Regions from separate parts of the Homo sapiens genome. Here regions 1, 2, 3, 4, 6 and 7 are each linked to region 5. The links are contacts of gene promoters, found by promoter capture Hi-C in blood cells and fetal thymus (Javierre and others, 2016). All regions are on one chromosome and are shown on one strand. Each heading gives the region's core, a stretch centred on a gene start or on the middle of the fragment in contact. The rest is flanking DNA. Distances are from core to core; before and after follow the strand shown. Region 1 holds the start of LOC105379087 (a long non-coding RNA gene). Region 2 has its middle 22 kb from the start of MACIR. Region 3 overlaps LOC124901037 (a long non-coding RNA gene). Region 4 overlaps KIAA0825. Region 5 holds the start of CHD1 (chromodomain helicase DNA binding protein 1). Region 6 overlaps PPIP5K2 (diphosphoinositol pentakisphosphate kinase 2). Region 7 overlaps MACIR (macrophage immunometabolism regulator).

What was found. The method cuts DNA at HindIII sites, captures the fragments that hold promoters and counts their contacts. A CHiCAGO score of 5 or more calls a contact.
Region 1: a contact is called between a fragment that was not itself captured here and the fragment with the promoter of CHD1 in region 5, in 4 of 17 cell types (total CD4 T cells, naive CD4 T cells, monocytes and 1 more). The highest score is 9.0, in total CD4 T cells.
Region 2: a fragment that was not itself captured here is called in contact with the fragment with the promoter of CHD1 in region 5 in 1 of 17 cell types (neutrophils); the score reaches 12.1 in neutrophils.
Region 3: a contact is called between a fragment that was not itself captured here and the fragment with the promoter of CHD1 in region 5, in 1 of 17 cell types (neutrophils). The highest score is 8.1, in neutrophils.
Region 4: a fragment that was not itself captured here is called in contact with the fragment with the promoter of CHD1 in region 5 in 4 of 17 cell types (non-activated CD4 T cells, activated CD4 T cells, fetal thymus and 1 more); the score reaches 9.6 in non-activated CD4 T cells.
Region 6: a fragment that was not itself captured here is called in contact with the fragment with the promoter of CHD1 in region 5 in 8 of 17 cell types (M0 macrophages, neutrophils, monocytes and 5 more); the score reaches 10.9 in M0 macrophages.
Region 7: a contact is called between a fragment that was not itself captured here and the fragment with the promoter of CHD1 in region 5, in 8 of 17 cell types (neutrophils, activated CD4 T cells, non-activated CD4 T cells and 5 more). The highest score is 18.0, in neutrophils.

Annotation. Positions count from the first base shown.
Region 1 is chr5:94,111,413-94,115,366 of GRCh38, reverse strand. It overlaps LOC105379087 (a long non-coding RNA gene), which reads right to left and starts at 3,665. Exons shown (of 7, transcript XR_001742441.2): 1 at 3,628-3,665; 2 at 2,963-3,042; 3 at 1,702-1,812; 4 at 566-620. ARB2A (ARB2 cotranscriptional regulator A) reads left to right here and starts at 3,704. Exons shown (of 11, transcript NM_032042.6): 1 at 3,704-3,856. The HindIII fragment of the contact is 1,727 bases long and covers 819-2,545 here.
Region 2 is chr5:103,278,918-103,282,683 of GRCh38, reverse strand. No RefSeq gene overlaps it. Among named protein-coding and RNA genes, the nearest start is that of MACIR, 22 kb to the right of the region's middle. The HindIII fragment of the contact is 1,780 bases long and covers 1,403-3,182 here.
Region 3 is chr5:103,242,075-103,246,024 of GRCh38, reverse strand. LOC124901037 (a long non-coding RNA gene) reads left to right here. Exons shown (of 2, transcript XR_007058894.1): 2 at 1-228. Among named protein-coding and RNA genes, the nearest start is that of MACIR, 15 kb to the left of the region's middle. The HindIII fragment of the contact is 2,352 bases long and covers 755-3,106 here.
Region 4 is chr5:94,614,093-94,617,967 of GRCh38, reverse strand. All of the region lies in intron 1 of KIAA0825, which reads left to right. Among named protein-coding and RNA genes, the nearest start is that of KIAA0825, 2.6 kb to the left of the region's middle. RefSeq lists an enhancer at 1-350. The HindIII fragment of the contact is 2,445 bases long and covers 28-2,472 here.
Region 5 is chr5:98,927,484-98,931,046 of GRCh38, reverse strand. CHD1 (chromodomain helicase DNA binding protein 1) reads left to right here and starts at 2,040. Exons shown (of 36, transcript NM_001270.4): 1 at 2,040-2,508. CHD1-DT (CHD1 divergent transcript) reads right to left here and starts at 2,485. Exons shown (of 4, transcript NR_151718.1): 1 at 2,405-2,485. LOC100289230 (a long non-coding RNA gene) reads right to left here and starts at 1,913. Exons shown (of 1, transcript NR_036530.1): 1 at 38-1,913. RefSeq lists enhancers at 1,307-1,636, 1,125-2,023 and silencers at 1,797-2,006, 2,267-2,896. The HindIII fragment of the contact is 7,543 bases long and covers 366-3,563 here.
Region 6 is chr5:103,178,031-103,181,790 of GRCh38, reverse strand. It overlaps PPIP5K2 (diphosphoinositol pentakisphosphate kinase 2), which reads right to left. Exons shown (of 31, transcript NM_001276277.3): 24 at 1,603-1,770. Among named protein-coding and RNA genes, the nearest start is that of PPIP5K2, 60 kb to the right of the region's middle. The HindIII fragment of the contact is 3,635 bases long and covers 670-3,760 here.
Region 7 is chr5:103,261,176-103,264,677 of GRCh38, reverse strand. All of the region lies in intron 1 of MACIR (macrophage immunometabolism regulator), which reads right to left. Among named protein-coding and RNA genes, the nearest start is that of MACIR, 4.2 kb to the right of the region's middle. The HindIII fragment of the contact is 1,592 bases long and covers 1,079-2,670 here.

The DNA of each region.
Region 1 (3,954 bases), core at 433-2,932, 4.8 Mb after region 5:
GAGTTCTGTGAGACCTTCTAGCAAAATTTCAAACCTGAGGGTGTTTCTGGGAACCCTCCAAACTTGCAGTTGGTGTCAGAAATCAGGGACACCTTAGAGACTGTGCCCTCAAACCTCACAGGTTGTCTAACTCTAGGTAAATATATCAACCTACAAATTGTCTCCATCACAAACTAGAGGCTATTTTATGTTTTTTTGTTCGAAATTCTCTTAAAGTATGTTTTGAACACTGATATGTTATCTTTTCTCATTTTAAAAAAATTCCAGGCATAATGAAAAGGGTGTTCTTGGGTCTAACTCAGTTTTGTGTCCCCAGCATCTAGATGGAAAGTACAAGTGATAGGGGGTTGATTTCAAGTAATAATCATTTTGTTGGAGGGGTCATTAGAAATTATTTGGTTATATGATCCTACTTTTTGGGCTTTAAATATAAACTGAATCTAGAAGGCAGAACTTGTTGTAATTACTATCCACACTTCACACATACTGTCTTAGTCCATTTTCTGCTGCTGTAAGAATACCACACACTGGGTAATTTATAAACAAAGAGATTCATTTGGCTTACAGTTCTGGAGGCTGGGGAAGTCCAAGATCCAGAGGCTGCATCTTGTGAAGGTCATCTTGTGGCAGAAAGCATCACAGGGGGAGAGAGGGTGAGACAGAGTAGTGAGAGTGCACAAGACAGAGAGAAAATGGGGACCAAATTTATCCTTTTATCAGGAGCTCACTCCCATGATAACTAACCCACTCCCACAATAATGGCATTCATCCTTTTATGAGGGCACAGTCCCTATCACCTAAATCACCTCTTTAAAGCTTCACTTCTTAATATTATTACAATGGCAATTATGTTTCCAATGCATGAATTTTTAGAGAACACATTCAAACCACAGCACATTCCTGCTTGGGCTTGAGCAAGGGCAGGAATGTTACTTGATTCTCCAAATTTAAGTCAGAATCCAGACCTCATTCTAATACAGTTGGTTAGTTTGGACAGAGCTTTGCCCTTAGCATCTAATTAAGAATATTTTCCTTAATGGATTTTCTTGAGCTGCCAAAATGTTGGCACTGAGTCCTAGTCATGATAAGTAGGTTTAAATTTTATTTTTAACTTAAATGAACAACATGTAGCCTTGTTAGTATTTTTGGAGGTGTCTGTCTGCTGTATGTCACTGAAATCATTTAATGTGAAGGGTGGGAGTAGATTGATAAAAAGATAGATGCCCAAGGAAGTGGTCTGGAATAGGAGGAGGATACGCAAAATATGGTATAGGGACATTTCTTTGATCATCCTAGTGATCAAAGATGGACCAGCTGTTAGCCAGGAGGGAACAAATCTCCTTTCCTTTTTCCTTATCTTAGTAGGATTTTGAAGTGCAAGAGAAGAGAGGTGGGGAGAGAAACTGAAGTTTCTGGCTTCCCTAGAGATGTATAAATTAAAATTATAAACTAACTTGTACAGTTTAGATGACTATGGTTAAAATGAGGGGACATTTTTGTACTATATTGTGTAGTCATCATTGTAATGGTTTCTGCTAAGCTACACATGGGCTGTTGTAATTCTAACAAAACATCTAAGCCCACATACAATTTTTGTTGCTTTCCCTCCTTTCTCCTCACAGATTTGCAGAAGATATTTTTGTGGTCAGCTGAGGCAGGAGTTTACCATTTAGGGTAGAGTAAGGAGAGAAAAGGACTCACTCTGTTTCAGCACATAACCTCTTCATTCTTGATTTTGACATCTTAGGCAGGATTGGACTTGAAAGGATATTTACTCTTTGGCTGTTGTCATACAGCTATTAGTTTCTTTTGCTGAAAAACAAATCACTCCAAAATTTACTGGCTTAAAGTAACAAGAATCATTTTCATTATCTCTAATTGTTTCTGTGGGTCAGGAATTCAGAACTGGGCACAGTGGGGATGGCTCGTCTCTGCTTTATGAAATTTTGGACCCCAGCTGACTCAATGACAGGAACAATCTGAAGGCTCATTCATTCCCATGTAAGTCCAGCTGGAATTGCAGGCTGAAGCACCCATATGTTTGTTCAATAGTTTACTACTGAACAAAGTACATTCCCCTAACCCTTGAGTGGGCCTCTATCCTGGAAATATTGAAAGGTCATGTCACTCATCTTTTGACCAATCTCCATATTTTATGTAAACATTGGTATATTCTCTTAATGGAATGTTACTTTTTTATTCAATTTTCACTAGTTTTCTCACTTACGTTCTATTTCTATTTCAGGATCCAACATTAAAGTTGGTCTCTTTAGGCTCCTCTTGGCTCAGACAGTTTCTCAGACTTTCCTTGTTTTTCATGACTTTAACTGTTTGGAGTAGTACTGGTCAGGTATTTTGTCTGATGTTTTTCTCATGGTTAAACTGGGATTATACATTTTTGGGAGCCTTATCTTTTTAATATAATCTGTCACTGTTGCAAAAGTCCACCAAAATAAAAATGTTTCCCTCCTCTGTTCAACAATCCTTCAGCTTCCCCAATTGTCTGCAGCAGAAAATCAAATTACTCAGCATGACATAGAAAGCTTTTCAGAATCTGGCTGTTGCCTTCCTCTTCAGTATAAAGTGTCACTCTACAAACCATTTGAGTTCTTTCCGGAAATGAAGCCCTAACAGTCTTGCAATGCCCGAGATTCATTCAGGTACTCAGTTCTGGCTAACTCCAGTGGATTCTCTCACCTTTTACTGCTCCTTATCTCCCGCCACTTACTTACACCACTTTCTTCTTGTCCTATACACTTTTCTAGATTTCCCCAATCTATTATTTACCACTGTGATCATTCAGTCATTCAATAAGTATTTATTGTCTACTTTGTGGACAGGCACTGTTGTATGGTTGAGGATACATTAAAAAGACAAGATTATGTCACTACCATCAGTGAGTTTACATTTTAGGGGGCAGGGTACATTTGCAAAGTACAAACAGTGTGGAAGTGAAGTATACCTTAGAGAGTCTGAGATCTCCTCTCTGAAGAACATAACTGTTGGTTTACTTGTCAGCCACCAGACTTTCCTTCTCTTTAGCTGCCTCAGAGGAGAGGGTATCTAACTCAGCTTTGTTACCCCAGCGTCTAGTTTAGCCTAATTCATTAAATTAACAGTTTTGGACTAAATAAATGCTCTGAGAGTACTATCTAAAAATTAAAAATCAGTTGCTTCCATCCCTTTCCCCAGATTTATCCTTGAAATACCTTTCAAACCTGTTTCTGGAAAAAACATTAATATCCGTAAGATTCCCATTTGAGTCAAGTATGATAACGAGAAAACTTTTGTCATTAGGATGCTAATATTAACTTCCTATTTTACATGTCCTAATTCAAAGGTAAATTTAATCTTCCGAATCTAGACCTCCCGGTTTTTCTGGAGTTGAATGGACAGGGTAAAGTCTGACACACTCTGAGTAGCGGAGTGGGGAACTGGCTGTAAGGACATCCTTAGAATAGTTAAAATTCCGCTGGGAAAACGAGGCTTTAGAGTGGCCTCGTCCTCTACGGCTACCCAGGCAGCCTTCACAAGGAAGGGCGACCAGAGTCCGCCAGTGCATAAGAGAACTACACTTAATTCACGCGGGCCTCTTTCTCCAGTCCACCTAATACCACAGGAACCTACCCAGGGCCCGCGCCCCGCCCGTTTCCGGGTTGTCGCCGCCGCTGCCGTCAAGTGCGTAATGACGTATCAATCTCCTGAAGACCCCGGAAGTGCAACTCGAACTTGGTCGGGGCGCGGATCCCGAGAGGGAAAGTCATAACAACCGCACGAGGGAGTTCGACTGGCGAACTGGAAGGCCACGCCTCCTCCCGCCTGCCCCCTCAGCCCTGTGGCTGGGGGCAGAGCTCAGGTAGGACTGCCGTTTGCGGGGATGTGAGCTCCGGGGGCAGGCCCGGGTCGAAATCAGGAGGGGGCTGGCCTGGGTCGGTCTCAGGCGGTGGTCGCTGG
Region 2 (3,766 bases), core at 1,043-3,542, 4.4 Mb before region 5:
AGGAGAATGGCGTGAACCCGGGAGGCGGGGCTTGCAGTGAGTCGAGATCGAGCCACTGTACTCCAACCTGGGCGACAGAGCAAGAATCCGTCTTAAAAAAAAAAAAAAAAAATCAAGTTAAGATTTAAAGAAAATTGAAGAAAAAAAATACAATCCCCATCTCTTTCACTTTGAGAGCCTGTCCCAGAAAACATTTAAGAAATGTACTTCTAGGGAGTGGGGGGAAGGTGACCAGGCAATGTTATACCAGATGCAATATAATAGGTCATTTTCTCCTAATAAAAAAAGTCAATTCATACTATTTAATGAATATCTTTTTGAACTGACTAGATTACCTTATATTGCCTACCCCTAAACAGTATTTCAATCCTATAAATATCCTGATCCCTTAAAAATGTTTCCACGTAAATGCATTAAAATCTTAGATCAGCATGACACTGAAAATATATGCAAAAACTAAGAAAAGAAAAAAAGCCCAAATTGTGTTTTTAAAAATGCCCAATTGAAAATAAAATACATAAATCCACCAACTAATTCAGGGTTCTATTTGATCATTTCAAAAGATAATCTACATTAGGAAACTTTTTGAGCAAAATACTTTCCATATAATTTTCTTATACAAATTATATCAAAAATATACATTTTTAAATGTGCTTCTGACACTAATTAATTAAATAAACCTCTCTCTGTCACTCTCACCCCACCTTGCCCCAGAAAAAAAGGGAAGGGTAATGCAAAGGGAAAAAATATCACTTAAGTATCCATTTATTTATTCATTCTCTCACAGCTCTTGCCTTCCCTGCCTGCTAGCTCCAAGGCTTCAGTTCTTTAACACTACCTCTCCACCTTAACTCTTCTCTTCTAGTTCTCTTCAGTTCATCTCCGCAGCCTACTGAGGAGACGGGGAGTTAACACCTGAACATCACTAGCATTCCCTGGTGCTCCTCAGATTCAATTATTTTGTTAAGATGCTGATTTTCCCGTATTTGTCATCTCCCCAGGCTTTCCAATGAAGGTACTTTCAAGAAATATATCTTTACATGTCAACTTTTATACAGATCAGCAATGTAAGTTAACACATCCAATCAGCCAGCCAGGCAGAGAGAAAAATAAACAAGATTGTTCTTTCTTAAGACTTCAGCTCCATGGGATTTAAGCTCCCCTCTCTTAAATTGTTAGTCTACAAAATATGTGCTTGGGGTGCCTCTTATGCTATCTTTCCGCTTTCCCAATAATAAGCACGTTCTTGAAGGTAAAAACTGTCTTAAGCCCTTCTCTTCCCAAAGTACTGGCATGTGCTCAGTAGATGCCTTATGGGTCACAGTGTGGGACCATTCTCATCTGTTCTCTGGTTAGAGGACAGGATCCAGAATGGTCTACAGATTGGTCTACTCCAAAAGCTTCAGACTATTTTTTAAATTTACCTTGTAACCCACTGCAAGGGGTGTGGAGATGTGATAGGCAAAACTCTTATGTAATGCTGATCAGTTCAGTAGCAGCTGCCTAAAGTGCTAAGAAAGATAATGCATCCACATCTGGACTCTAGGGGGACTGTGCTCTGATAGATTAGTGATGTCTGCCACATGCATAAGCGAGGAGCACGGTGGTCGGCATGCTCAGTATTTGCCATCCCAGCTCCAACCCCTTAGCCAAAACCTGAACTTCTTTAAGTTCAAAAACTTCTTACTGTGTAAGTTCCTTTCCCTAACTGAGGCATTAGGCCAGGGACAAAAGATGATTCAAAGTCTTCCAAATATATATTTAATGCGTAATCCTTTTACATGAAAGTTTGGTGAAGAATAGTTTTCCTGGCCAATCAGGCTAAAGGTCACTATCATGAACCCAGCGTTCCCTCCTCTTTCCACCGGATCACCATAAGAATCCTCTCTTGAGAACATTCAGAAGGAACTTTCAAAGTGCAGGTGGCTTTTTCACAAAAGCAAAAGCATCAAAGCTCTTCTCTCCAGAAGCGACTCCAGCCAGGATCACTTAAGGATTCCACCAACTGCAGCTACTCTCTTCCAATCTAATAGATGCTGAGTTCCCTTTTCTCCTTCTGTGCTTTCCCATACATCTATACATCAAGCACAACCCCACGGTCAGGGGTGACAACATTCAGACTTGGTTTCAGACTTTCTCTCTGAAACCATTTAATAAAACGTTGCACAGCCGGGCACGGTGGCTCAAGCCTGTAATCCCAGCACTTTAGGAGGCTGAGGCAGGAGGATCACCTGAGGTAAGGAGTTTCAGACCAGCCTGGCCAACATGGCAAAACCCCATCTTTACTAAAAATACAAAAACTAGCCAGGTTTGGTAGCGGGTGCCTGTAATCCCAGCTACTTGGGAGGCTGAGGGAGGAGAATCACTTGAACCCAGGAGGTGAAGGCTGCAGTGAGCCAAGATCATACCACTGCACTCCAGCCTGGGCGACAGAGCAAAACTCTGTTTCAAAAAAAAAAAAAAAAAAAAAGGAAGAAGAAGAAGAAAAAAAAAATCTTGCACAAAGTCATTTCACAATGGCAAGAATACAAATTCAACATCTCTCCAGGCTAAAGAAAGAAGTGTCCTTGGGGGCTCAGCAAACTCAAAATAACAAATCAAGCTCATTCTTCTTTTCTTCTGTTTCCAGTCTTCTCAGCCAGAAAAATCCTTAACTTTTTTCCAATGTAAAATATCACAGAAGTCCATTTCATAATTCTTATCTAAAGACGTATATTACAAAGTGAAGTGCATCATTAAGTGCTGACAGCCTCCACTTCCAGCTTCATAATCACACTTATTATATTTCCAAGGCAATCTTCCTCATCAATTTCCATTTCTCTAATCAAATTACATTGTTTAAAAAGGCAATTTTACTTAATACTTGCTGTCCTCTCTGCATTACAGTAATGTACATGCTTGCTCTCTTTCAACCCCAACTCTTCTAGAGCATTTATGCCATTTATAAACTGTGACAGTCTCCCCTCCTCTGTTCACTGAATGAGAACCACTTAGACCAGGGTCACTTAAAAGTTCCTTTAAAAAAGTTCAATGATTATAATAGAATAAAAGCCTTTCTGAGACAAATATATGCTAGAATAAAAAACTAATAAAAAAATAGGTTGCTTAAGATTTGAAGAAATATTTTCTTTAGTGGAAGACTTATTTGCCTCTAAAACTTAACTCAGAATCCTCAAAAAGCTTCTCAAACCTCAAATATTGAAATCACCTAAATAAAGTATCCCAGGGAAGGAAAAAGACACAGTGATCACAGATGGGCATTATAGGGCATAAGAAGCAATGGACAGGACATGATGGCTCTGGAACAATAGCCCAGCTGGGCTGGAGTCCAGAAGATCTGGGGGTTCTGAACTGGTTTTTACATGTTAAATCCATCCCCATAGAGCCTCTTCTTCCATGACTACTGACTATGGGAGCCCTGCACCCAGAGGTGTAAAATGCAACCAAATGGAAGTCAGAAGAGCAAAAGAAGCTCACCTCAGATTGAGGCAAGGAATGAAATTTTACTGCAACTTTATGCATCATCTGAGCTTCAAACAAACGGTACTTTTGCAAAAGAAGAAAAAAATTAAAGTTATATAGTGCTGCAATGTTTAAGGGCAAGAACAGTAAGATAATATCATCAGGTATATTCTGGCCAAGTGTGCCCCATTTAGTGTGGAATATTAAATTGAATAAAAAATGAAAAAGTTAAAAAATAGAAACCATGTCAAAAGGGATTGTTTTTCAACTAAAAGAGATCCAGCCTACCCTTTTTTTAAAAAAA
Region 3 (3,950 bases), core at 681-3,180, 4.3 Mb before region 5:
AAGTTGGAGGAGGTTGCCACACGGATTATACTCAGTAGACACAAAGCATCTCAACTTACTACAGGAAAACCACCTTTAATGAAAGCAACCACAGTTCCCACATTCACCTCTCCCCTTCTTTTCTTGGGTGCTTTCATTAATTGCAAGTAAACTTTCAAAGTCAGAGAACTATCAGCCGTATAGCCACCTAACGAAATAAGACAACAAATAAATGTGAATTCATTTTAACAAGTGAATGCCTATTAAATCAGTAGATCAACACTGGCAAAATGCTGTATCTATAGTGCTCCCACTTTAATTGAGGATGGCACCAACAGAGCCCCAGTTCCTCAAGACATCAAGTGAGTGTACATAAAACCAAACTTATGAACATATAAGTGACATTTCCTTAATATTTCATATTTCCATATTGCTTCAACAGCCACATGTTAGATGTGTTTCTGAAATAATGTTGGTAAAGAAGAATTATTCAAAATAAATATTTTACCATAAGTTTCCAGTTGCTATTTAAAACTCCCCACAATAACATATAATAACTTGAACATTCACGTCTCAAAGTATTCTGCCTTTGTCAATGCATAATTTACATGCACTAAAGTTCAAACTATAATTTAGTTGAAAGGACAAACCCAGAACTTTCACATACACATTTAATAACAGTACACATAATGTACGCTACAAGGTGATTATCATATCTCAGACTTCTTCCAGTTCTGAGAGACTTTTATATTTAAGCGATCATCCTACCTAAGCTTTCAACAGAATTCATGACTAGAAGACTCACAGGGACATAATGGTACGGATCCTGATGTTCACTAATCTCAATCTCGCTACAGTTATTTATGAATAAGATAGTCGTATTACCTTCTTCTGTTACACGAGACAAAGGCTTGGAAGTGTTAAGAGGTATGCAATTAGGAAAGATGAACTAGTGTTCAAAATCACCTTGCAGTTTCTTTTCTCTCTCATCCTAGGCTACTGTTTGTGATTGTCTAAATAAAAGGATTCATCCACGCATTCCCTGGAAAAATTTACTACCCAAGTTCACACAGGACAAATTTGGAGTAGAAAATCCATTTAATTACTTCTCTTGGGAAATATCGCTTCTGGCAGAGAAACTAATGTGATATTAGAAGGCTGCTTATTCGGAATTTGTGTAAGAACTACACATACCACGTTGGGTTTGAGCAAATTATCAGGGTCTCTTTGTTGGCCCACTGGAGTCCTTTTTCCTGGGAAATGCTGAAGACAAGAGTCCTAAACTGTTCCCAAGCCCAGGTTTTCTCTCCTCCAAGTTACCCTTTCTGTTCTTTGAACATCTAAATATTTACTCAAAAAAGACTCCTTACTGTCTTACAGAGAGAGACTCTGTATTAACCTCTTTTAACATCTGACAGCTTCTAGCCTTTTAAGGAAGTGATACCTCCACCTATCACAATTTAGCAAGTTTAATCTATTATACAAGTTATCATGTTAACTACCATTAGCAAACAGTAGGACAACTGTGACTTCCTTACAAGGCATTGTGATTTTTGTACTATCACCTTACTGATTACTCTTGAAATGTAAGCCCATCTTTAATACTTAACATCCACAACATCCACAAGTTATAAAACTGCTTTTTGGTTCATGTGTTCTTCAGTAACAGTAAGTAAAAAACTGTCTTTAGAGACACTCTACATATTTTTCAACCCTTTTGTCATCACCAGGAAAACCTTTGCAAAATGAAAACCTTTGTTTCTCAGTGGTAAATCATCATAGACAGAAAGAGTTGGTTCTTGAAATCACACTGTGTGTGCTTTAGGTTGGTCCTTAACTCAAACCTGGTGTGTATTTGCGCATGTGTGTGTGTGTGTGTGTGTGTGTGTGTGTGTGTGTGTGTTGGGGGGGCTGGGCGAGAGAGAGAGAGAGAGACAGAGACAGAGAGAGACAGAACAAAACAGAAAGACAGACATAGAGAAACAGGCAGAGAGACAAAGAGACAAGAGATAGTGCTACATTCCTGGAGTGTAAACATCTTTTCTTCCTTTAACCTAGCGTAGCTTTATCATATCTCTTTAGTCACAGTTTTTGTTCTTGCCTTTCCGTTGCTGCAAATCCTGGACTGGCAATTTTCTTTCTTCCCACAACCTGGTCAGATACAGCCAATAGCTTTGTGGTCAGATTCTTTGCTCCCTGAAATCTCCTAACCCTCAAGATATTCAGCACAGGCCTGATAAGCATTGAATCACTGCTCAGCAATCCTCCAGGTCTTGTGAAAAGCATAGGTCTGGGACCATAGCTTTTTTTTCCTTTCTTTCATCCACAATATTATTCTGTGCTAGTACATAGTAAAGTGCTCAATAACTGTTGAGAGAAGGAAAGGAGGAGGGAAAGAAGGAAAGCGAGCACATTTGGCAAGTGATTTGACAAAAACCAAAAATCTGGGTACTTACATTTTAAGACATGGTATAAGAAAGTTGATAGAAAGAAAATTCTGATACTTAGGCAATCCGATCCAAAACTTTGCTGTTTTGTGTATTTGTGTGTGTGTGTGTGTGTGTGTGTGCGGTGTGTGAGAGACAGAGGGAAATACTAACACCAGTTCCGGGGTGGTGGTGATGATGATGATGATGATGATGAAAATGATAATTCTTTCTTAACTGAATTTTAATAGGAGTACCAAAAAATGAGAAGAGAACAAAAATTGTGGCTGGCTGTAATATACTACTTACCATCATCTACATGAACTGCTTGCTGTCTGAGCCAGGTTACTTTGCAATATAATTATCATGATAAACACACTTACATCTTCCATATCCCTCCTAAATGTGTTTCACAAGGTTCAATTTCCAGTCTTATGCTGTTTTTAAAACATATATTGTTTTTCTTGGAGATTTAAGAATCAACCATGATAGTGCCTCTCAAAGTTCCTTAAGTATACAAGTTTAGTAAATATTGAATGTTTGATGAACTAATTAAATATAAGCTCAAGGCTAAATGGTGATTTTGGAAATTACATATTTAGTATGCATATTTAGTGTAATCTTTCAAACTTAAATAGTAGAAACCTTCATTATTCTACCTCCTCTTTTTCATACTTCTTTCCTCTCCATTTTTTAAAGCTTACATCTTAACTTTACTATTAAAAAAATTAACTGTAATCCCAGCACTTTGGGAGGCTGAGGCGGGTGGATCACTTGAAGTCAGGAGTTCGAGACCAGGCTGGGTGACATGGTAAAATCCCATCTCTACTAAAAATACAAAAAATTAGCTAGGCATGGTGGGGCATGCCTGTAATCTCAGCTACTCAGAAGGCTGAGGCAGGAGAATCGCTTGAACACTGGAGGCGGAGTTGCAGTGAGCCGAGGTCTCACCATTGCACTCCAGCCTGGGCAACGAGAGTGAAACTCCGTCTCCAAAAAAATAAAAATAAAAATAAACTCTGCAGTGAGCTCAGTCCTCTGATAAACCAGAGTTTGTGAGTAATAACAGCATGATATTTAAATTATGAAAAAGTAGATAAGAGATAGGATTATTTTTTATTTCCTGATATTAAATCATTAAACTTGTCTTAGTCCATTTTATGTTGCTGTAACAGAATGCCTGAGACTTGATAGTTTATAAGAAAATAATTTTAGTTAGCTCATGGTTCTGTAGGCTGGGAAGTTCAAGAACATGGCTGTGGTTTCTGGTGAGGACTTTTGTGCTGCCTCATAACATGATGGAGAGGAAGCAAATATGTAGAAAGAGAGAATACTTGAGGGATGCCCTGGCTTATAACAAACCACTCTCTCAGGAACATTTCTGTGAGAACTAATCAGTCTTGTCAGATGGAGAACTCACTCACTACCAGGAAAATAGACACCAAGCCATTCATGGGGGATCTGCCTCCATGACCCAAACACCTTCCATTAGGCTCCATCTCCCAGCACCACCATATTGGGAATCAAATTTCAACATTAGTTTTG
Region 4 (3,875 bases), core at 1-2,500, 4.3 Mb after region 5:
CATGGCTGAGACATAAGAGAACAAGCTTGTAATTTCATGCTTGGGCATTAGATGCATTTTTGGAAAGCAGTGATCAGTAAGTATGTGTGCTTTCAGAAAGGAATGCTTGCGTTCTGCTCCAGGCTTTGTCGATAATGAAGGATTCAGGAGAATTTTGGATGGAGGTCTGAGGTAGCCAGAATAGTTGTAAAGAGAAATTGCTTCCGACAAAGGGATAATGTGAGGAAAGGTGCTCATTTAAGATTTGAAAGATGTGATGTAGTGAACCTTGGCGACTTCTCTTAAGTAATGCAATTTCTTAGGTAACTAGTTTTCACTTGCCACCTTATATTTAGATAATTACCTCCCCACCAACCCCCGTAAAAGGCAGCTGACTGTTATTTTTTCAAAACAGTCAGTTCCCGAAAGAGTTGTAGGTACTATTGCATTTTTTTTATGGGTATGCTCCTCATACCCATAAAAACATTTTCTTTATCGGAGCATACCGATAAAGAAAAATGCAATATGTTCAATTCAAGGCCCCTGTTAACACCAGGCCAGTGTCTTCTTAACCTTTTGAGAGTAATGCAACAAACCATATTTAGGACAGCACATTGATTTTCTGGCCTTGTTGGTTAATAATTCAACAAACTTATAATCGCCCCATTAATCCCAATCTTGACATTTTGTTGAATCTTGTATTTTTTCTTTATTTCTCCAGTTGAAAGTATTATAAATTACTTCAGGGATATTATGTATTATATCTGTACAGCAACTAGTTTTTAGAGGCAGTGATTTCTCTCTTTGAATTGCTCTTGAATGTAGCCAATCATTAATACTTACCCCAAGTAGATACTGTCTGCCAGGCACTTTACATTTATTATTTTATTTAATGTTTAATAAAAAAAGAAAATCACAAAAATTGTATTATTTCTATTTTGCAAAACATTTTATACTGAGACCCAAAGAGGTTGTGATTTTCCATAAATTATACAATTAAATGGCACAATTAAAATTTGAATCCAGTCTACCTGACTCTAAATTTTGGCTCTTTTTACTGTGCTCTATACCTTTATAAGTAAACATAACAGTATCATTATTTTCACTCCAGGTAAAAATGGATAGATAGTATGTCACATTTAGAAATCAAGTGGATAGCAAAACTTGAGGATAAAAGGGACTTAAGGGATGTGTTCATCACCATAAGGTAATTTTGACATCTAAATAATGCAGTTTCTTTAGTGCCTTTATCCTTGGCCAGTTTTATTATCCTAATTCAAACAAATGCCTATACTGTACATTAGCATAACACTTGGGGCAAATGCAGAAGATCTGGAGACCATCAGCAAGCATATTGGTGACTGAGTCCAGAGTATCAGCTAACTATCTCTTTAGACAGCTTTTCACACACACATTTGTATACATGTATATTTGTGTGTGCATGTGTGTGTGTGTGTGTAGGGAGAAAGAATGAGTAAATGAGCACAAATTCATAAAATTCAACTTTGTAATGATTTATAAGGAATTATTAGCAAAACTGTGCTGTTCCACTCACGTAACCCTCAAACAGATGGGGATTATCACATAGTTTCAGGAATATGCTTTATTAAACCTGCCCATCCCAATACCCAATTCTATATAGAGAAACAGAAATAGCCTAATTTTCAGAGAATTTACAAAAATTTAGTTGAAATGACCAATACTAGAAATGACATAGAAGTTAATTCTAAAGAATATCCTGTTTTACAACTGTATAGGTATAGCTAGCCTGAAATACTAATGTGTATTTGATTACATTGCATTGACTTGTAGGCAGATCCCGTAGGCAGATCTCAGGGATATTTTGCTATCAAATTTCAGTGCTTATGAAGTTTGGGATTATGTCTGTTTTGTTCGTCATCTCAAACCCAGCATCTAGCACTGTGCCTGGCGTGTAATAGAAGCTCAATAAATAAGTCAGGAACCATGACTCATGACTGTAACCCCAATACTTTGGGAGGCTAAGGCAAGAGGATTTGAATCCAGATCCTCTAAATTTTGGCTCTTTTTACTATGTTCTATACTTCCTTTAATAAATAAACATAGGTCACAGTGAACTATGATCATACTACTGCACTCTAGCCTGCACAACAGAGTAAGACCCTGTCTCTAAAAAATAAAAAATAAGCATTTATTGAATGAATGATTCCTTTTTAAAATGTTATTTATCCACCGAGAAGTATTTGTACATTTTTTAAAGGATTTACCACATAAATAAATATTTATTTTTACTCACCTTGCCCCTGAAATACAGTGTCCACTCCACACTCATTCATAAAAGGCAATGTGCTGTCCTGCAAAGAAGACTGGACTGTGAGACAGGAGATGAGAGAATATCTAATATTTTTCTGTGTTTATTCTCTGCTATTCAGTGTTAAATTACTCCTTACAGCACAGTGGGTAAGTATTATTATCCTCCTTTTACAGATGCTAAAACTGAGGCAAAGATAAGCTTTGTAAATTGTCGTAGGTTACGCATAGTCATTAAACACAGCTATGATTTGAATGAAGGGCTCTGATCCCAAAAGCGATAATCTTAACCACTTTGCTAGCCTCCAGTTGAATTTTTAATCCTGGTTCAGCTGCTAAATGTGTGCAAAAGCTCTGGGTATCATGTTTCTCATCTATAACATATAGGAGTTTGATGGATTATATTATCTGTAAGGTCCCTCCTACCTCAAAAATCCTCTGACTTTAGTTGACTCCTAAGTATTATCTGAATATAGCAGTTCTGGAGTGCCAGAAAACCCTCATCAATTTTGATGTGTTTTATGTAAGCTTTTATATGTGTTCACGTCTTCCACATTGGTGGACACACAATCATGTTTTTGCAATAGGAAGAATAGAGTTAAAAAAATCACAGCCATGCTTTTTTTTTTTTTTTTACCAGCTATGACACTAATAAGTCACTGAACCTTTGTGAGCTTATGTTTTCATATGTAAAATGGATCCATAGGATTGCTGTGAGCGTTAAGTGGGTTGACTTATAAAGCCTCAAACGTGTTGTCTGATACACAATTGCTGATAAATAAATATTGATTCTTTTTCTTGCTCAGTCTTGCAAGGATAAAAGATTAGTGGATATGAAAAATGCTTTATAAATTAGACAAAGGTGAAGAATATTTTCACTTACAGTCTACTAGGAGAGAGAAAGTTATATAAACAAATAATTATATGTAGGGCAATTTACATACATCATTGAACACAAAACATGGGAATGCAAAGAAAAGAGATTTTTTTTTTTCCAGGAGGGCAGATGAGGAAAGACCTCATAAAAAAGGTAATATTGAGTTTGTGCCATATAGGATGGAAAGGATTTTGGCAGGGGAACAAGAGGGACAAGTGTTCTACTGGAAGATGCAAAGGTGTCAGAAAACAGAAATAGTACCTAGGTCACTTTGGCTATGTAAGATGGATGAAGGCTGGTAATAAAGCTGAGGTAAAAAGCTGAGTTTAGGACAAGCTGTAGATAACTGTGGGCAAGTTAGAGATGTTAGGCTTTTAACGATAAGCAATAATCTGTGTGTATAACTAGGATGGGGTGGAGGATGGAGTTGGCATTTGTTTTCTTTGTTATGGAAAAACGCCCATTTGTTACAGAAACATTAGAGTGTACAAATATGCCAAAAAGGAAAGAGAAAGGAAGAGTGGCCCATGACCCCACCACTCAGAAATAACTTATGATTTTTCTCTGTATTACAGATTTGCATATATGTGCTTTTAAAATAAAAATGAAATAATACTGTCTATATTGTCTTGTGACCTGCTTTTTTCAATGTGCTATACCATGAATTTTTCCATGTCAATAAATTTGCTTCTATAAAATAATACTTAGGGCCTGTATGCTATTCAATTTT
Region 5 (3,563 bases), core at 791-3,290:
AAGCAATAAAGTATGATTTTACTCGAAATCTAAATCTCCAATGTTCAATATTTTATTACAAATTGGGCAAGATCTTTTTTCGAATAGCATGTTTGATGGCACAATACGACAGAATAGCATATTCAATGGCACAATTAGTAGTAAAAAAACAAAAAACCTGCCTGACGTGCTTCCGGAAAACGTAAAATAGACTGTATATACAGTAATTCTTTTCATAAGACAATGACAAAATGTCAGAGTTGTAATTGAGGACTTTATTAACTGAACTATACTTCTGATTACAACATTCTGTGTATGTTAATAGTTTCTCTGGAGAAATTACGGGCACAGGAAGTTCCTCTCATTAAGGATATTAACATAAAGCTTAATATGAAAAATTAGCACTCAGTTCAGAAATGACGACTTCAGAAATGACTTCAGAAATGACGATTTGTATGATCTTTTCATTCCTCACAACCCAGTATTAAAACTATCTAATATTGCAAAGGATGGTAGTGTTCCACTTCGTTTTGCTATTCAATTATTGCTGATAGATACATGTTTTCAAAAAGGCCATTGGCATCTGTTTGCTTTCTCCTACTTCTCCAAGTGAATACACCCTTCAATATGTAGTAAATACATATGTGGAGTTATGTTTTGAGATTTTTTTGAAGGATTTGAACCAAACTGTTTAAACAGCTGGTAGCCTAAAACTGGAATATTTCCCACAAGGGAAAAATAATTATTTGGGGAATGTATGTTACCACAAACTCATCTGACTTGGAAAGTGCGCCTTTACACCAAATCAAATAACTGAACAATGGGATTAGAAACTTTTAATTATTATTAACCTCGGCCACCGGGCGCCGTGGCTCACGCCTGTAATTCCAGCACTTTGGAAGGCAGTGGCAGGTGGATCGCTCGAGCTCAGGAGTTCAACACCAACCTAGCAACATGACAAAACCCCGCCTCTACAAACATAAATAAAAAACAAAAATCATTAACCTTGAGTGAGTCAAGTTCATCTGCAGACTGAAAAAAATAAAGTGTAACAGAATTTTGATTTAAAAAACGCTTTCAAAAAAGCATTTCAAAATGCTCTAAGTATGTTTCAAAAATACACTTAAAAATATGTTTCCAACACACTGAAGGGATTTAACTAAGATCCACAATTACAGTTACGATACAAACTGTAAGCTAAAAGGCAGCAACTTAAGCTGAGACAGTTACTAACATCCCTCGAGCAGCGTTTTTTGTTGCGATTCGGCGCCGCACCCGTCACCCCGCCCTCCGGGGAGGAACCTAGAAAGGAAGGGTGGTACATTTCTAAACCAGGCCACCCACACATGAATCAAGCGGCATCACAGGCTGTCAACAACCGGGTCTCTATTTTCTCTCCTCCTCCGGCGCCCCGCCCGTGCGGGACATCAGCTCCCAGGATGCGTCAATCGCAGATCGCCCAAGCGTAAGAGGTGGCGAGAGGCCACCACGGTTGCCCAACAGTTGCGTTCCCAGGCTGCCTGGTGTGACGCAGCAGCCCCCGCCCGGACCCTGAGGCCTGGCGCTCCGACTGAGCCGAGGCCTGTGCTACCCGACACTCCTTGCGACCCGGCCCCTTAGGCTTATTCAGCGCGGCCCTTCCCGGCTTCCCGAGTCCCATCGCAGTCTCTCCCCACCCCCGTTCCTCCCCGGTTCCTTGTCAGTGTCCGCCGCGATGTCCTTGCGCAACCATCCCAAGTGACATTAGCGCCCATACCCGCACGGAGCGAGCCTGAAGCTCCCACTTCCCGGAATTCAACGCCGGGCCGCTAAGGGCGGGCACCCAAGCGAGGATCAGCGGACTAAGGCCGCGACCAGAGTCCAGCGGTCTCCGCGCAGTCAGAGTCCGACAGCCTCTGCGCATCCGCCGTGCGCACTCCCATTCGTGCGCGTGCGCGCACTCGCCCCCCCCGCCCCGCCCCAGCACCAATCGCTTTTTTCCTACGCCCACGACCCTTCAACGTAGTCCCTCCCGCCTCCCGCGCGCGAGCAGAAAGGCTTCGGCGTGCGCGCGCCCGCCCGCCTCGCGCTCTGTCGGGAAGGGGAGTGAGCAGAGGCGCTTACGTCGCGCGGGAGGCGGAGGCGACGGCGACCTCGGTGGCGGCGGCGGCTACGACGGAGACGGTTGCGCTCGCTTGCTTTCTCGGCGTCATGGCGGCTGCCGGGGGCAGATAAGCGGAGGGAGCGGGAGCGCGCGCGCGACGGCGGCGGCGGCGGCGGCGACGACTGGTTACTTATAGCTCTTGCTGCCCTCGCCCTTGGTGCTTCAATAATGAATTGTTAGCTCCACTCCGCAGGGGATCGCGCGTTGGTGCTGCGGACCGGGGCTTCCCCTTCCCCTCCGCGTCTGTCCCCTTCCCCCTCCCCCGCACGGACTCTTGCTTACCCCGAGACGCCGGAGCCCTAGGACTGGGCGGCGGAGATCCCGGGCCTGGGCGCGGGGGAGGCCGTCCACCCGAGTCGGCTCCCTCCGCCCCGCCAAGCCCGCCGGTAAGAAAGGGGGCGGCGGGCGGGTCAGGATGTGGCGGAGAGGACAGGAACCGGCCGGGCGGAGGGCGGGCGCGGCGCGGTGCCCAGGCGGCGGCCCAGCGGCCGGGTGAAGGCCGGGTGGCTCTGTGAGTGCCGGTGGCGGTGTACGGGCCTGGCGCGCAGGGGGCGTGTGAGCGGCGAGTACAGGCCGGGGCCGCAGAACGCATCCTTGCGCCGGCCCGGCGGCCCTGCCCCGGCCTCTTCGGCTTGGTGCCGACCGGGCCGCGAGAGGAGACCCGCGAATGGCTAGCACTTAGCCGGTGCGTGGGTCCTGCCGCGACCCGGGCTCCCAGCACGTGGGGAGCGGCGGGAGGGGGAGGGGGCGGCGGCTCGGGCGAGCCTGGGAGGGCGCGGGGCGGGTCTGCGGGAAGTTTGAGGCGGGAAGAGGGACTCCTGGACCGGGATGGAGGCCCTGGGAGAGGGGGGCAGGTCCGCGAGGGAGGCTGATTGGAGCGCGCTGGATGGATGAGTGAGGATGGTTTCCAAACCTCTTTCGAGTGCCGCTTTAAAAACTTAGCAGGAGCAAAGCAACTGCTAAAAGACAGAGGATTGAAGAGGTTTAATAACTTAGGGTAGTCATTGTGGAGACGCTTGAGAGGACACAGCGCTGTGTGCGCTTGGAGCTTCAGAACTCAGGGTTGTGAAAAGGGTCTCAGAGGACTTATTCGGATAAGGGAGATGGAGGGGAAAGGAAGTTAAAATGTACAGAGAAAGCCATTTTGAGGGACGAAAGGAAGGTGAAAAGGAAAGAACGAAAAGGGGAGTGAACTTTTTAAAGGAAGAAACGGGAAAGGCAGTTTGTTAACATACTTAGATTTTTTAAGACTTAATTGTTCAGTAAGGCACTTTGACTAGGGTTGAGATTAATATTTAACATTAGGAATAAATGTTGAGTAGAACGGTTACTTTTTAGATAACCTGTTCTTGCAGAGTCTACTGGACAGTAGTCTAGAGAATTAACATCCTGATCCAGATGCAGACTTTGCTATCATTGAGTTGGTAACAATCTGTTTCCC
Region 6 (3,760 bases), core at 1,238-3,737, 4.3 Mb before region 5:
GTATAATTCGGGGCTGTAGAAATGAGCACAATTCTTTTCATTGTTTTTATTCTCACCCATTAAATGCTAAAAAATGCTATACCTAATTCTTCAGAACTGGCATATTTAAATAATGCTTTATTCTAAAAGTTGATGGTTCTATCTTAATTTCTTCCTTTACACACATATACACATATATATGTATATATGTGTGTGTATTTATTTATTTATTTATTTTTTGAGACAGAATCTCGCTCTGTTGCCCAGGCTGCAGTGCAGTCAGGGGGGTGGTCTCGGCTCACTGCAACCTCCGCCTCCCAGGTTCAAGTGGTTCTCCTGCCTCAGCCTCCCAAGTAGCTGGGATTACAGGCTGGCACTACCAAGCCCAGCTAATTTTTATATTTTTAGTAGAGACGGGGTTTCACCATATTGGCCAGGCTGCTCTCGAACTCCTGACCTCAGGTGATCCACCCACCTCGGCCTCCCAAAGTGCCAGGTTTACAGGCATGAGCCACCACGCCAGGCCCCTCTTCCTTTATACTTTTACTAGAGCATTTAGAAAACAGTTAGAAGCACTGACCTCAATCAGTGCTGGGAGACTCATCCTACAGAAAACAGAGATAACCCCAAATAAAACTTATTTAAAGTATTAAAAATGTATACAGGTGCTAAAGCTTTATTTAACAAGCTTCATTCTAACTGCTAAACTTTCCTTTTAAATGTTACTTTATTAATTATTTAAATGTTTTTCTATTAGAGAGCATAAGAATTATTCTAACCTATTTATAGATCTTAATATAAAGGTAAAATTTTTTATTATATTATCAAACATTCAAATTCCTATATAGACTTTGCAATTAGGCTAACAATTTAGAATTTCATTTCTTTACCTATAGTATCACTTGAATCAGTTATTGCTAAAGCATCTCCAGCAAATGTTCTCTACTTTTTTTTTTTTTTTTTGGGGAGAGTCTTGCTCTGTTGCCCAGGCTGGAGTGCAGTGGCGTGATCTTAGCTCACTGCAAGCTCTGCCTCCTGGATTCACGTCATTCTCCTGCCTCAGCCTCCTGAGTAGCTGGGACTACAGGTGCCCGCCACCATACCTGGCTAATTTTTTTTATGTTTAGTAGAGACGGGGGTTTCACTATGTTAGCCAGGATGGTCTCGATCTCCTGACCTCATGATCCACCCGCCTCGGCCTCCCAAAGTGCTGGGATTACAGGCATGAGCCACCATGCCCGGCTTGCTCTCTAACTAAAATTATTCTTGATCCATTAAATCAGGCTTTTAAAAAAAATTCATTATTGAAGATCAACCTAATGTAAATATTCCTAATGTAACAAGACAAAAAAAAAGCATTCATTTTTCAAGTTCCTAGAAACAGCTTATTTTATATTTGCATCCTTTTTTTATGAAAACTATATGTAAAGCTCAACATTCTAAAGCTAATCTATTTTTGAACTGCCTCTATATTTTTTGTAATTTATTTAAAAATAGATTAAATAACATTTAAAAATTTGTTGGTTTCCCAAGCTCCACAATTAAAGCTGTATTTTCTTTTCTGTTTTATTAAAATATAGTTAGTTTACTGTATGAAAAATGTGTTCTGATACATATACTTACATCATTTGTAGCCGTCTTCCTAGATCTTGGAAGTGGAGACTTCCTGTGTATATGAATTGGCTCTGATACCATTGGTTTAAACAATATCACAGCTCGATCAACTTCATCTCTTTTAGAAGTATGTGGTTCATCATCATTATCAATTTTAAAAGGTCTCCTGCCTTCATTCTGTGAGCAAAGAATATAAAACACTTTTACTATTCAGATTTAAGAAATCTCTTCTGATGAACAGATTCAACTACCACTGGTAGAGGTACTTGAAATACATATACAAGTTTGTTTACTCAGATGAATTAACATTAATTGAACTCTTCTAACAGCTTAGTATTATGCTGTGTACTATGAGGGAAAAGGCAGAGTCTCTGAGTTCAAAAATACATATACTCTATGGAGAAATTAAACAGTAAAATGACAATTAAAAAACCACATAAGACAAAGCGTTTAATTACATTTCATCAAGTGCAAGAATAAATAAACAATAATAATAAATGACAGTAAGAAATAATAGAGATGAGCTTTGTTATATAGGAGTCTCATCAACCTGAGCATGAACTAAACAGCACTTGTATTTATATATTTTAGAATATTTAAATCTATTCCAAACATTTCTAATAAATGTGATAACTGCATTAAAAGTAATAATCATTCAGTGACTCATTAAGCATTTACTAAGTGTATAACATGTGCCATGAATTGTTCTAGGACACAGATGAATAAGACACAGTCCCAGATTGCAAGAATCCTCCAACACAGTATGGGAGACAGGCAAGCTAAAAATTTTTATATCAAATATCCAACTATAAGATAATGCATACGTTGGACCATAGTAATACAGTAAAACACATATTTTAAAGCAATAAGAACGCACAAACTAAAACTAAATGCAACTACATTGATGAGCCTCATAAACATAATATTGGCCAAAAGAAAATAAACTGAGTACATAAAAACCCTCATCAAATTAAGGGTTACAGAGAATAAAAAGGTACTTCTTTAATCAAATAAGGGATATCCAAAACTTGAAGGGCTCATCACAGTTAATAATAAGACACTGAAAGATAAGAATGTCCACTATCACTAAATCTATTCATCATTCATAGATGATGTTATGATCATATACATAAAAAATCCAGATGACTCTAAGGGTAAATTATTAGAATGAATAACAGCATATATCAAGTTATAAGTTTGCTAGCTATAAAATTTTTATACAAAACTGAGTTAAAATTTAATATGACAAAAACAAAAAATGAAATTTAAATAAATCATAAATGAAATTTAATTTATCATAAATAAATCATTTATGACAGCATAAAAAACTATAAAGGAACTAGGAATTAATATGACAAAGATGGTGTAAAACAATTATTTGGTGCAAAAGTAATTGTGGTTTTTGCTATTATTTTTAATGAAAAAATAATGATTTTATCAAAAAATATAAAGTATAGTTAAATAAACTCAGAAATATACCAAGTCCTTAGACTAGAAGACCCAATACTGAAAAAGTATCATTTTTCTCCAAATTGATCTGCAGAGTAGTGGTAATCTCAATCAAAATCTCAAAGAGTCTTTAGAATATTATAAAATGATTATAAAATTTATATGAAAATGCATGAAACATGAAATATTTAACATAATCTTTAAGAACAACAAAGCTGGAGGAGTTCTATACTCAATATCAATATTTATTATAAAGCTATAATAATTAAGACTGTGGTACTGGTAGAGAGAGAGACAAATAGAGCAATCAAGTAAGACTAAAAATTCAGAAACCAACCAATCAAAATACAGACACAATATATGTCTGCAGTATCAGATGTAGTACTATAGGTGGCAGAAAAAGTATGAACTCTTGAATCTATGATACTGGGGTTTAGTTATTCATAGAGCGAAGACAACAAAACTGGACTGCACATCACATGTACTACATCCAAAAAAGTCAATTTTGGTGAATTAAAGGTTTAAGGTTATCCATTCTAAACACGGCCTTAAAATTCAAACAATCTAAACAAAAGATAAAATTCCTAGGTATTGCAATATGCATAAAAGTACAGTCTATACAAATCACACTTTAAAAAATTTAAACCATTTTCCTGCTTAGAAGTTAAAATAAGAATTATTTATAGTACATTATAAAAATCTCTTATAGAAACCTCAT
Region 7 (3,502 bases), core at 625-3,124, 4.3 Mb before region 5:
CTTCAGATGTAGATAACAGAAACACTCCCTTTCATGTATTTTGCCACCAACTATTCTCAAATTGGGGAACCAAAAAATCTTGAAAAGTAAGCCTTGATTCTACCCCACCAATGAAGCCTCTGGTTTTAACACACAGTAAATTGTAACAAAAATTGTTACCTACAGACAAAATGTTTATTTAATATAATTATCCCAAAGAATTTCCCCAATACTAATAACATTCATCTGCATTTCTTATTTAATGGATTTTTAATGGGAAAGAGGAGTTCTAAAAACGAACATTTCTTTAGCATCTTCCTTATGTCAAAAGTGATATACAATTTATATCATTTAATCTTAACTACTCCATGAAGAAAATATTATTATCCCATTTTTAAAGTACTCTTTAGTAGTAGCCCTATTTTAAAGTACTCTTTTAAGTGATACTACATGAGAGTCACAGCAGGAATTGGAACCCCAATTGGTCTGACTCCAAAGATCATTTACTTTACACTCTGGCCTCTGTTCAATGATAAGACAACATGTATAGCCTTTTACACAATAATCATGATCCCGCAAAATGTATATCAAGTAATTTCTATAAGTGAAAATCTATTTTAAGTGTATGGGTAGGCACTTTATCTAAAAGCTTTATTGCCTCATTTGTGAAATGGTTGGGGGAACTACTTAGCTGCATGGTTATTTCCAACTTGAAAAATATTAAGATTTGGTGGCACATCGTGGAAAGTCTTATACAAAATCCTTCTGAATCATGGACTCTTTCTCCTATGAGCTTCTATTTTCTAAAATCATAAATTATGCGACAGAAAAAAAGGTATCAACCAATACCGTCTGGTTATATGGTTGGATATCAAATACAGTTATATATTTCCGCTTTATTTCTCAAGACTACATCTATCACAAAGTGGGATAGATTTCATTTATACTTTTATAAATGTCAATTTAAAACAAGCAGGAGGAACATTAGAAATATCTGAATGTCTTAATCCTAAAGAATAGTTTTGACAGTCTTAAATCTCATTCAAACTTTCATATAATTTGCCTCATGTATTTGGTGACATATTCTTCTTTTTAAGCTTTTAAATGCATTAGAAAAATATTTACACTTTCAAAGAGTTTCTTTTTCAACATCAAAAGAAAGAAATCAACTAAAACTTTAGTCTGGATTTGAAAGCAGAGGAGCCTTGAAGACATTACCCAACTCTTGCACTGGAGCTGATGTGTAAATCTAGGAAATGATCGGTAATTTCATAGTAAACAAAGAGTAGTAACTGATTATTCCTATTATGCCAGTGCCAAGCCAAAAATAGAATATAAACACAATGTCCAAGGGAGCAACACAAGAAAACCAAGGTGCAGAAGCTCCATTACATTCTCACTTTTTCTAATTTTGACTCTGCTTCCTGCTTTGTGGGAGGAGGAGGAAGAGCAGGAGGAGGAGGAGGAAGAGCAGGAGGAGGAGGAGGAGGAGGAGGAGGTATATGGTGAAAAAGAGGGAAAAATAAATAAAAAGAACAAGACCAGAAACTAACTAGTATAAGATTATACGTTTTCTTTAAGACATAACCCATAAAGAAATCTACTACAAAATTACAGTAAGGGTTCTACCCCCATCTCCCACTTATAACAATTAAAAGATTGTAATATAAAAATTCCCAAAACATGTACCTTTCAAATAACACACATTTTTAGAATACTTTAAAAATCTATAATTCTCTAACGCTTGCAACTGATTTTGGCCAATGTTCTAAACACTGAAGGCTTGGAAAGATATCAACAGATTTCCTCTCCAAAACAGTCAGCAAGAGGAAAAGGAATCCATGTGAAATTCTTAGAAGATAGACTAAATGCTGCATAAAAACAAAGACTGAAGTAAATAGAGCAAAGGCTACAAGATATAATAAATGCTTCCAGTTATAAGAAGCTGAAACAGAATGCAGTGGGACATTATCCCATAAGCAATAAAAATAGGAAAAAACCAAGCAGTGGCCAAGAGCTGCCCACAGACTTCTGGATAAGAAAGTCATGGGTGACTAAGCAAAAGACACCCAACATTTCACTGCAAGTGGAGCTTCTACAAATAGAAAAGTTTGCAAACATTAACTACCAAATGTATCGAATTTCTCAGGTGATAGTTATTATCACAGGTAAATAAGAATGCCTTTCAAAAGAAGAGTGACTATATATCTCAATTCATAGTCAATACCCTGGCATAATTATTGAAAGCAACCCCCTTTAACTCTCAAAAGTGTCTCAGTTTGGCTGTTTCATTTGTTATCCTACTCAAAAGCAACATGGAAAGGCAATGACTTTTTTAAAAAGGGAAACACCCTTCTGCTTGAACGGTGAATTCCCATACAGGTCTGAGTTCTTTCTTCGGGTGTACCCACTTAGATATTCACTTATTCAGTCATTCAACAATGTTTCTTAAGTCTTATTATATATCCCCACACTATGCAGGCACTGGTGCACATATAAAGAGATGGCCTGAGACTGGGTCAGAGGGGAGGGCAGACATGGAAATAAATCCTTCTAATAACAGTAAACCTGAATGGCACTAGGAACCCAAAAAAGGGAGTGCCTTTCCCAAAAATATACAAAGCTCCATTTGGAAATGTTTATGTCCATACAAAATTCGTAAACACACAAAAAAGTCGTGAATCTCAAGCTTCAGCACAGATCACTAACAAAACAGCAGTAAGAAAAAATTTAACAACATTGATCACAAATCATAAGACTATAAATATGAGGACCAGCACATAGCCCTTTCAAATATTGGTAAATAAAAATCACATTCATCATTAAAGTTTATATTATGAAAGGACAAATTTTAGGCAGAGAAATTGGTACAGTAGAAGCTGTGAGTTCTAATTCTAGCTATCAAAACATTTATTTTCATTTTTTTCATGGCCCTAACCTGAAGCCCACCAAAACATTTTCAAGAAAGAAAAGAAAGAAAGAAAGAAAGAAAGGAAGAAAGAAAGAAAGAAAGAAAGAAAGAAAGAAAGAAAGAAAGAAAGAAAGAAAGAAAGAAAGAAAAAGAAAAACAGGTAGTATTTTCAGAGTGGCTATTTAAGAAGAGACCACTAATGGAAAAGCACTTGGAAAAAAAACATCAATTTTTAAAAATTCTTTCAAAATAGTGAAAATATTTTGTAACCACTAATCTCAAAGACCACTAAAAACAAGTAAAAGATGAACCAAAACATCTCTGGAGGAATACTAACTGAACACTAAGCAGAAATAAAATGGCTTAACTGTCAAAGTACAACACAACAATGAAAACAAAATGTTTAGCTGCACCTAGATGCTCATCTTAGAGGCTTCTTTCAAATATTCTTACTTTACCATTTGCAACTTGCAAAAAGTAAGTCATCAATACTCTTTAAGAAGAGTTAACTAGGGTGTGACTTTTCTGAAACCATCCTTGACCTTACAAACAAACCATTAACCTTGCCAACTTTGTAAGATAACCCATAATTCGTTCAGTAAGACAAAAATG